2 separate regions of the Homo sapiens genome follow, and region 2 is linked to region 1. Evidence: promoter capture Hi-C in 16 types of primary human blood cells and fetal thymus (Javierre and others, 2016). All regions are on one chromosome and are shown on one strand. Each heading gives the region's core, a stretch centred on a gene start or on the middle of the fragment in contact. The rest is flanking DNA. Distances are from core to core; before and after follow the strand shown. Region 1 holds the start of SNAPIN (SNAP associated protein). Region 2 has its middle 33 kb from the start of S100A6.

Region 1 (4,469 bases), core at 1,109-3,608:
TGGTGGCTCACACTTGTAATCCCAGCACTTTGGGAGGCTGAGGCGGGTGGATTACCTGAGGTCAGGAGTTCAAGACCAGCCTGACCAACATGGTAAAACCCGTCTCTACTAAAAAATACAAAAAAATTAGCTGGGCATGGTGGCGGGTGCTTGTAATCTGAGGCAGGAGAATCGCTTGAAACCGGGAGGTGGAGGTTGCAATGAAATGAGATCGTGCCACTGCACTCTAGCCTGGGTGACAGAGGGAGAACTCCATCTCAAAAAAAAAAAAAAATGTAGGCCAGGCATGGTGCTCATGCCTATCCCAGCACCATTTAGGAGGAAGTGGCAGGAAGATCACTTGAGCCCAGTTTGAGAACAGCCTGGGCACCATAGTGATAGCCTGTCTTTTTTTTTTTTTTTTTTTTTTCCCGAGACGGAGTTTCGCTCTTGTTGCCCAGGCTGAAGTGCAATGGTGCGATCTCAGCTCACCGCAACCTCCGTCCCCCGGGCTCAAGTGATTCTTCTGTCTCAGCCTCCCAAGTAGCTGGGATTACAGGCATGCGCTACCACGCCCAGCTAATTTTGTATTTTTAGTAGAGACGGGGTTTCTCTATGTTGGTCAGGCTGGTCTCCAACTCCCAACCTCAGGTGACCTGTCCACCTCGGCCTCCCAAACTGCTGGGATTACAGGCAAGAGCCACCGCGCCCAGCCGATCCTGTCTTTTTATTTAAAAAAAAAAAAAAAAAGGCCAGGCAGGCCGGGTGCAGTGGCTCACGCCTGTAATCCCAGCGTTTTGGGAGGCCCAGGCAGGTGGATCACTCGCATGCAGGAGTTTGGGACCAGCCTGGGTAACATGGTGAAACCCTGTCTCTAGAAAAAATACAAAAATTAGCTGGACATGGTGGTGCATGCCTGTAGTCCCAGCTACTTGGGAGGCTGAGGTGGATGGATCGCTTGAGCCTGGGAGGTAGAGGCTGCAGTGAGCCTTTATCATGCCACTGCACTCCATCCTGGGTGATAGACCTTGTATCATAAAAATAAATAGCCAGGTGTGGTGGTTCACTCCTGTAGTCTCAGCACTTCGGGTGGCCAAGGTGGGAAGCTCACTTGAGCCCAGGAGTTCCAGACCAGCCTGGGCAACATGGAGAAACCCTACTTCTACAAAAAAATACAAAAATTAGCTGGGCGTTGTGCACGCTTGTAGTCCTAGTTACTCGGGAGGCGGAGGCAGAATTGCTTGAGCCCAGGGGGCGGAGGTTGCAGCGAGCTGAGATTGAGCCACCGCACTCCAGCCTGGGTGACAGAGGGAGACTGTCACACACACACACACAAGAATGTAAATGGCAGCAACTGAATAGTGAGAATGAGACGAATTTTCCTAGGTATTTTTCAAGTACTGGGAGAAGTGAATTTCCCTTTCCCCAAAGAATTTTAAAATTACAGTGGCTTTCACTGTGTTGAGGACTTACAAAAAAGGGCAAAGAATCACTGTTGGTAAGATATTCTTTTACCTGAGCATTCTGTAGAATGTTGTTAACCAAGACAACGCGTCGCCGGGCATTAAGTAGCTTCTTAACATAGGGGTCAAGATCCAGGGCCACCTTCTGATCCTCATTTATGCGGCACAGTTCTGGGGATGGAAGTAAGGTGCAGCTAAGATCTAACGGCTTATCTCTTGTTCTGAGGGAAAGCAGGCTGGTAATGGGATGGAAAACACTTGCACCCAAACGGGCCACAGCCATTAGAGATTTAAGACATCCCTGAAAGGAGGAGTCCTTTGGCAGCCCTGATGCCCTGGAAGCAAGTGACAGAAACTCAGCCCAGGGGTTGGCAAAAACCTAAGGTCCTGAAAGTGGGCTGAAGAATTCCGGGTACACAGGGATGCTCACTCACCTGTGGCTAGGTTGTCAATTTGTTCCCGGAGCTCTACCTGGCTCTCTCTGCAAAGAGGTACAAGGCCTACAAGGTCAGGCAGTTACCGGAGCTCAGGAAACGAACTCCCCTACGTATTTACCAAGTACTGAGAGAAGCCGGCCTCCGCTGAACCCTCCACCTGCGGCCTTCCCGCCTGTCCTCCCCGCCTCGAATCAGTTTCCTAAATTTATGCCCACTCCCAGCCAGAACACTTTCTTGGCCCCGCCCCTACAAAGCCAGAGAGACAGGCCCCGCCCCCAACTTCCCTCCCGGGCACCTGACGGCGTGTACGTGAGAGTCGAGCTGCTGCACAGCGGGTCGCAGGAACTCCAGCAGCCCTTCGGCGAAAAGGTCGCGGCCTGTGGGCCCCGCCACCGGGGTCCCTGCCCCCGATACAGCGGCGGAACCAGCCCCCGCCATCACGAATTGTCCTGAAGCCCGAAACCTGCCGCGAGGGCCGCCGGGAACCGGAGCCGCGCCGCACTGCCCCGCCCCGTGAGGGGGCGCCCGGGAAATGCTGTCTCCACCAAGACACCGGGGTTTCTGGGAAATGGAGTCTAGCGCGAACCGGGCGGGGAGGAGGGCCAGGCCGTAGGAGTAGAGGCCTTGTGGCTGGTCTTGAAAATCTCCAAAGTTCAGGTTGTAGAAAGGAACCAGTTTTTGGAGTGGATACTTTTCGTTTTCTTTAAAGGTGAAAATAAACGCGAATACCTGCAGTTGTCCATAGCCTTCCCATGTTAACTTTATGAGATAGCCGGGCATGGTGGCGGGCACCCAGCTACTTGGGAGACTGAGGCAGGAGAACCGCTTGAACCCGGGAGGCGGAGATTGCAGTGAGCCGAGATCGCGCCACTGCACTCCAGTCTGGGCAACAGAGAGACTCCGCCTCAAAAAAAAAAAAAAAAAAAAAAAAAGCAACCCAAACCAAACAAAAACAAACCAAAAACAAAAACACTTTATGAGAAAGCCACATTATATTCATAGTATCGTTTTCTATTTCTAAAGAGTTTATTGTGGTTGGTTGTTTTTAAGACAAGGTCTCTCTCTGTCGCCTAGGCTGGAGTGCAGTGCCACCGTCTTGGCTCACTGTAGCCTTCACCTCCTGGGGTCAAGAGGTCCTCCTGCTTCAGTCTCCCAAGTAGCAGGGACCACAGGTGTTAGCCACCATGCCTGACTAATTTTTCATTTTCTGTAGAGAAGAGGTCTCACTATGTTTGTTGCCCAGACTGGTCTCGAACTCCTGGGCTCAGGTGATCCTCCCAACTCAGCCTCCTAAAGTGCTGGGATTACAGACGTGAGCCACCACGCCTGGTCTATTTCTAAAGAGTATATTTTTAATGGCATTAAATATGTAAAAAACTGCATGTATCCGAATTTCATTCCTTTTTAAGGCTGAATAATATAAACATGCAGGCAGGGCATGGTGGCTCACTCCTGTAATCCCAGCACTTTGGGAGGCTGAGGCGGGAGGATCACCTGAGCCCAGGAGTTCGAGATCAGTCTGGGCAACAAACCTAGTGAGACTCTGTCTCTACAGGAAATAAAAAATTAGCCAGGCGGCCAGGCGCAGTGGCTCACGCCTGTAATCCCAGCACTTTGGGAGGCCGAGGCGGGTGGATCACGAGGTCAGGACATCGAGACCACGGTGAAACCCCATCTCTACTAAAAATACAAACAATTAGCCGGGCGCAGTGGCGGACTCCTGTAGTCCCAGCTACTCGGGAGGCTGAGGCAGGAGAATGGCGTGAACCCGGGAGGCAGAGCTTGCAGTGAGCCCTGATCGCGCCACTGCACTCCAGCCTGGGCGACAGAGCGAGACTCCATCTCAAAAAAAAAAAAAAAAAAAAAAATTAGCCAGGCATGGTGGCTCACAGCTGTGGTCCCCGCTACTTGGGAGGCTGAAGTAGGAGGACCTTGAGCCTAGGAAGTTGAGGCTACAGTGAGCCAAGATCGTGGCACTGCATGCACTTCAGCCTGGGTGACAGGGTGAGACCCTGTCTCAAAAAATAAAAATTAAAAAAAATTTTTTTTTGAGACCGAGTCTTGCTCTGTCACCCAGGCTGGAGTGCAGTGGTGCAATCTCGCTCACTGCAAGCTCCGCCTCCCGGGTTCATGCCATTCTCCTGCTTCAGCCTCCCGAGTAGCTGGGACTACAGGCGCCCACCACCACGCCCGGCTAATTTTTTGTATTTTTAGTAGAGATGGGGTTTCACCACGTTAGCCGGGATGGTCTCGATCTCCTGACCTCGTGATCCACCCGCCTCGGCCTTCCAAAGTGCTAGGATTACAGGCATGAGCCACCGCGCCCGGCCATAAAAATAAATTTTAAAGTTTCCTTAGTTCACTTATTTTTCCTTTCATTTTTAGAGACAAGGTCTCACTCTGTTGCTGAGGCTGGAGTGCAGTGATGTTATCATAGCTCACTGTAACCTCAAACTTCTGGGCTCGAGCCATCCTCCTGCCTCAGCCTCCTAAGTAACTGGGACTACAGTCACCTGCCCCCATGCCTGGCTAATTTTTTAAATTTTTTTGGTACAGGCAGGGTCTCCCTATGTTGCCCAGGCTGTTCTCG
Region 2 (4,497 bases), core at 1,907-4,406, 160 kb after region 1:
TTTCTCTTTCCTTCTTTCTTTTCTTTCTTTCTTTCTTTCTTTCTTTCTTTCTTTCTTTTCTTTCTTTCTTTCTTTCTTTCTTTCTTTCTTTCTTTCTTTCTTTCTTTCTTCTTTCTTTCTCTCTCTCTTTCTCTTTCTTTCTTTCTCTCTCTTTCTTTTCTTCCTTTCTTTCTTTTTCTTTCTTCCTTTCTTTCCTTTTTTCTCCTTCCTTCCTTCCCTCTCTCTCTCCCTCTCTGTCTCTTCCCTCTCTCTCTCTCTCTTTCTTTTTTTTTTTTGGATGGAGTCTCACTCTGTCGTCCAGGCTGGAGTGTAGTGGTGTAATCTTGGCTCACTGCAACCTCTGCCTCCCGGGTTCAAATGATTCTCCTGTCTCAGCCTCCTGAATAGCTGGGATTACAGGCTCACACCACCATGCCTGGCTAATTTTTGTATTTTTAGTAGAGATGGGGTTTCACCATATTGGCCAGGCTGGTCTTGAAGTCCTGACCTCAGGTGATGTCCACAAACCTCGGCCTCCCAAAGTGCTGGGATTACAGGTGTGAGCCACCACACCTGGTCAGCTTCTCTTTTTCTCTGAAGTGAGTCTTAGTAGAGGAGTTTTTCCCCTCAAAATATCTAAAACACTAAGACATCCCTTCAGAAGCCCCCACGTTGACACTATGTCATAGCAACATGTACCCTTGGTGACTCTCCTCTGCCTCACTATTCGAGTCACTGTCCTCTGCCCACACTTGTACCACTGCTTTCCACCAACACACACACACCTGGGGAAATGGAAAGATTAATACTGTATTAAGATCATTTTTCCCACTTGGCCCTGCAAATGACTCTGGGAGGTAGGTGGGTTGGGCAGGTTGGGTTTACCCCTATTTTGCAGGTAAGGAAACAGAGGCTCAGGGAAGTGAAAAGCTGTGGCCATGCCTCAGGGCTGGTGCCAGGGCTGAGTTGCAAACCCAGGTGATCTGGTGCCAGGCTGAGATGGCAGTGCCACTGTGAGGCAGTATGGCATTGCAGAAGGCAGCAGGGAGTTAGACTTTGACTTAGAAAGAGCAGCTAACTTCTGTGAGACTTAGTTTCATCAGCTGAAAAACTAGTGTTTTAGTCTGTTTTTTGGTGCTTCAGAATACCTGAAACTGGGTAATTTATAAAGAAAAGGAATTTATTTCTTACAGTTTTGGAGACTGAGAAGTCCAGGGTCAAGGGGCTGCATCTGGTGAGGGTCTTCTTGCTGGTGGGGACTCCCTGCAGAGTTCTGAGGCAGCACAGAGCATCAAGTGGTGCTGGGGCTGAGTGCGCTGGCTCAGGTCTCTCTTCCTCCTCTTATAAAGCCACCAATCCCACTCCCATGATCACCCATTAATCCGTTAATCCATTTATCCATGAATGAATGGATTAGTGGATTCGTGGGGCTAGGGACCTCATGACCCAATCACCTTTTGCAGGCCTCATCTCCCAGTACTGCCACACTGAAGATTAAATTTCAACATGAGTTTTAGGGAGGCCAAATATTCAAGCCATAGCAATGGGATACAATTATCTATCCTATAAAGCTGCCTTGAGTCTTAAAAGAGAGCTTCCAATTTAAAAGGCACCTGGCCCACAGACCGTGACACCATCATATTCTTGTGAAATGGCTCCTGAAGGTAGGGAGTAAGGCAAAATGTCTACACTACCCAGCCCAACAAACAGCAAGCACAAGGAAATATGAAGACCCTGGGTCAGTGCTCTGCGCTCCGTTCTCTCTTAGACTAGTTTCTACAGCCCGTGAAAGTGTGGGAGGACACCTGGTAACTGCGCAGTAATTTGCACACTTGAGTGGGCACTGGGATCACCGGAGGGCTTGTTAGAACACAGATCTCTGGGCCCCTATCCCAGAGGTCCTAACACAAGCAGGTCTGTGGTGGCCTGAGACTCTGTATTTCTAGTAAGATCCCAGGTGCCGTTGTTGCTGCCGTTCTGGGGACCACATTTTGAGAACTGCTGTCCTACAGGGTCTGCTCCTGGGAGGGCCCAGAGACAGGGTGTGGGGATCCCTTTGTGTTTTCTCTCCCAACCAGGCTTCACTGAATGGTTTCTGGAGCCCGTCCTGCATCCAGGCAGCTGGACCAGCGTCACTGGCAGCTTTAGTGAATGCGGTTAGTGAAGAACCAGAAAAAACAGGTGTCACACTTTTGGTGCTTGAATTTTTTTTTTTTTTAAATTTTTGAGACGGAGCTGACTCACTCTGTCATCCAGGCTGGTGTTCAGTGGCATGATCTCGGCTCACTGCAACCTCTGCCTCCCAGGTTCAAGCGATTCTTCTGCCTCAACCTCCCGAGTAGCTGGGATTGCAGGTGCGCACCACCACACCCAGCTAATTTTTGTATTTTTAGTAGAGACGGGGTTTCACCATGTTGGCCAGGCTGGTCTCGAACTCCTGACCTCATGATCCACCTGCCTCGGCCTCCCAAAGTGCTGAGATTACAGATGTGAGCCACTGTGCCCGTCCTGGTGCTTGCATTTTAAAAAGCCAGGGTAGAGGTGCAAGATAATAAAGATTTGGAAGCATATGTAAGCGTTCCCTAAGCTTCCTACCATGACCCCAGCCAATCCATATGGGACGACTGGTGGGGGCAGGAGCTGAGAGCACTGAGCTCACAGAACAGTTCTAGCCCTGAGATGGCCCTCCCAGCACTGATCAGTGCCAGCAGGAGGAACATAGGGCCTGGACACTTCACTGAGCCTCCCATCCCACCCACCAAAGGCCCACATGGGTGGTGGGGCCTGGAAACCGAGGGAGGTGGTGGTGCATGGAAGGGGTAGTCTTCCATCCCCTGCCCCAACTTGGGCAAGATGGAGCTTCCTGGCTACATAGGGTTACTACCAAACAGACAACTCCTTGTAGGGCTTATTTTATTTTATATTTTAATTTAATTTAATTTAATTTAATTTAATTTAATTTAATTTAATTTAATTTAATGTTAGTGTTTGCCTTCCTATCTGCCTATCACTATAAGGCAGCCAGAGCCCTGAGCTCTTCCTTGGTCTTCCCAATATTTCTGTATCTAACAAGAGAATAAAGGATCATTGGGCAGAAAGTAGACGTAAGAGAGAAGAAAGAGAATACTGGGAGTGGTGCATGGCACCCTCATTGTTACAATAAGAGTAGCTCCTAACAGTGTCCATCAACATTGCTGGATGTCAGTCACAACAGGCATGGACAGCAGGTAAATAGCCACAACAAATGCCAACTTTCTCTAGAGCTGTAGCATCTACCACATAGATTTTGTGTAGACCAAAAGGGCTCTCTGCAACCCAGGCAAAATGTATAAAAACACAGATATGCCTAGACACTCTCAGGCAAAAGTATTGCTCAAAGGAAAATAAAAAGATTGCCTATAAAAGAGCAATTCAAGTGAATCTCATATTTCTTAGAAGTTACAAATAAGCAAAATCTTCAGTTTTTGAGGAAAGAAAAGGTTGTGCCTCAGAATTGCATAAACATAATTAAGCAGCTAGCCATCTGTGAGGACACCAGAAAAATATCCCTAGATATACAAAGGTCCCTAATATTCTCTTCTTGAAGTAAAGAATCATGTTCTCTTCTTGAAGTAAATTACTTCAAGACTGGCTAAAAGATGAATAAAAATTTTAAGAATTCTGGAATGGTGACTTAGAATTCTTGATGGTAAACCAATAAAACTGGTTAAACATACTGTTAGATCTAAATAATTGAAATATAATAATAAAATTTACTGTAAGCTTAAAAAATAATTATTTCAAGAAAAAATAAAATGAAAATACAATTAATTAGCAATAATCAGGCTGGGCCCTGTGGCTCACACCTGTAATCCCAGAACTTTGGGAGGCCGAGGTGGTAGGATCACCTGAGGTCAGGAGTTCGAGACCAGTCTGGCCAACATGGTGAAACCGCGTCTCTACTAAAATACAAAAATCAGCTGGGTGTGGTGGTGGGCACCTGTAATTCCAGCTACTCGGGAGGCGGAGGCAGGAGAATCGCTTGAACCTGGGAGGTGGAGGTTGCAGTGAGCCGATATTGTGCCACTGCATTTCAGCCTGGGCGACAGAGCGAGACTCCCTCTCAAAAAAGAAAAAAGAATTAGCAAGAATCAGAGTTTAAGTCACAAGCCATATTGCTGGACACCAGTAAGTAGCAAGCAGATTGAGAAAGAGTAAAAGTGTATTAATTTCCTCATTTTACATGAGGAGAATAAAAGGATATACATTTATTCTTAATTTTCAAGATTAGAATAATATTTGTAAAAATGTTTTTGAAAATCTTTAAAGTACATGCAGGGAAAATGGAGAGAAAAATATGTTTTCCAAATAACCAGAGCATCTGATAAAACAAAACAGGACACATAAAATGAAAGCAGAAAGCAAAGGAAAGGGTGAGGAAGTATTAAAAAGAAAAACAGGCTGGGTGTAGTGGCTCACACCTGTAATCCCAGCACTTTGGGAGGCCAAGGCGGGAGGGTCGCTTGAGGCCAGGAGTTC

The links. The method cuts DNA at HindIII sites, captures the fragments that hold promoters and counts their contacts. A CHiCAGO score of 5 or more calls a contact.
Region 2: a contact is called between a fragment that was not itself captured here and the fragment with the promoter of SNAPIN in region 1, in 5 of 17 cell types (M1 macrophages, M0 macrophages, megakaryocytes and 2 more). The highest score is 7.9, in M1 macrophages.

Annotation. Positions count from the first base shown.
Region 1 is chr1:153,656,592-153,661,060 of GRCh38, reverse strand. It overlaps SNAPIN (SNAP associated protein), which reads right to left and starts at 2,358. Exons shown (of 4, transcript NM_012437.6): 1 at 2,175-2,358; 2 at 1,877-1,923; 3 at 1,495-1,613. The coding sequence starts at 2,317. RefSeq lists an enhancer at 2,513-2,592. The HindIII fragment of the contact is 14,460 bases long and covers 1-4,469 here.
Region 2 is chr1:153,500,822-153,505,318 of GRCh38, reverse strand. No RefSeq gene overlaps it. Among named protein-coding and RNA genes, the nearest start is that of S100A6, 33 kb to the left of the region's middle. The HindIII fragment of the contact is 1,175 bases long and covers 2,569-3,743 here.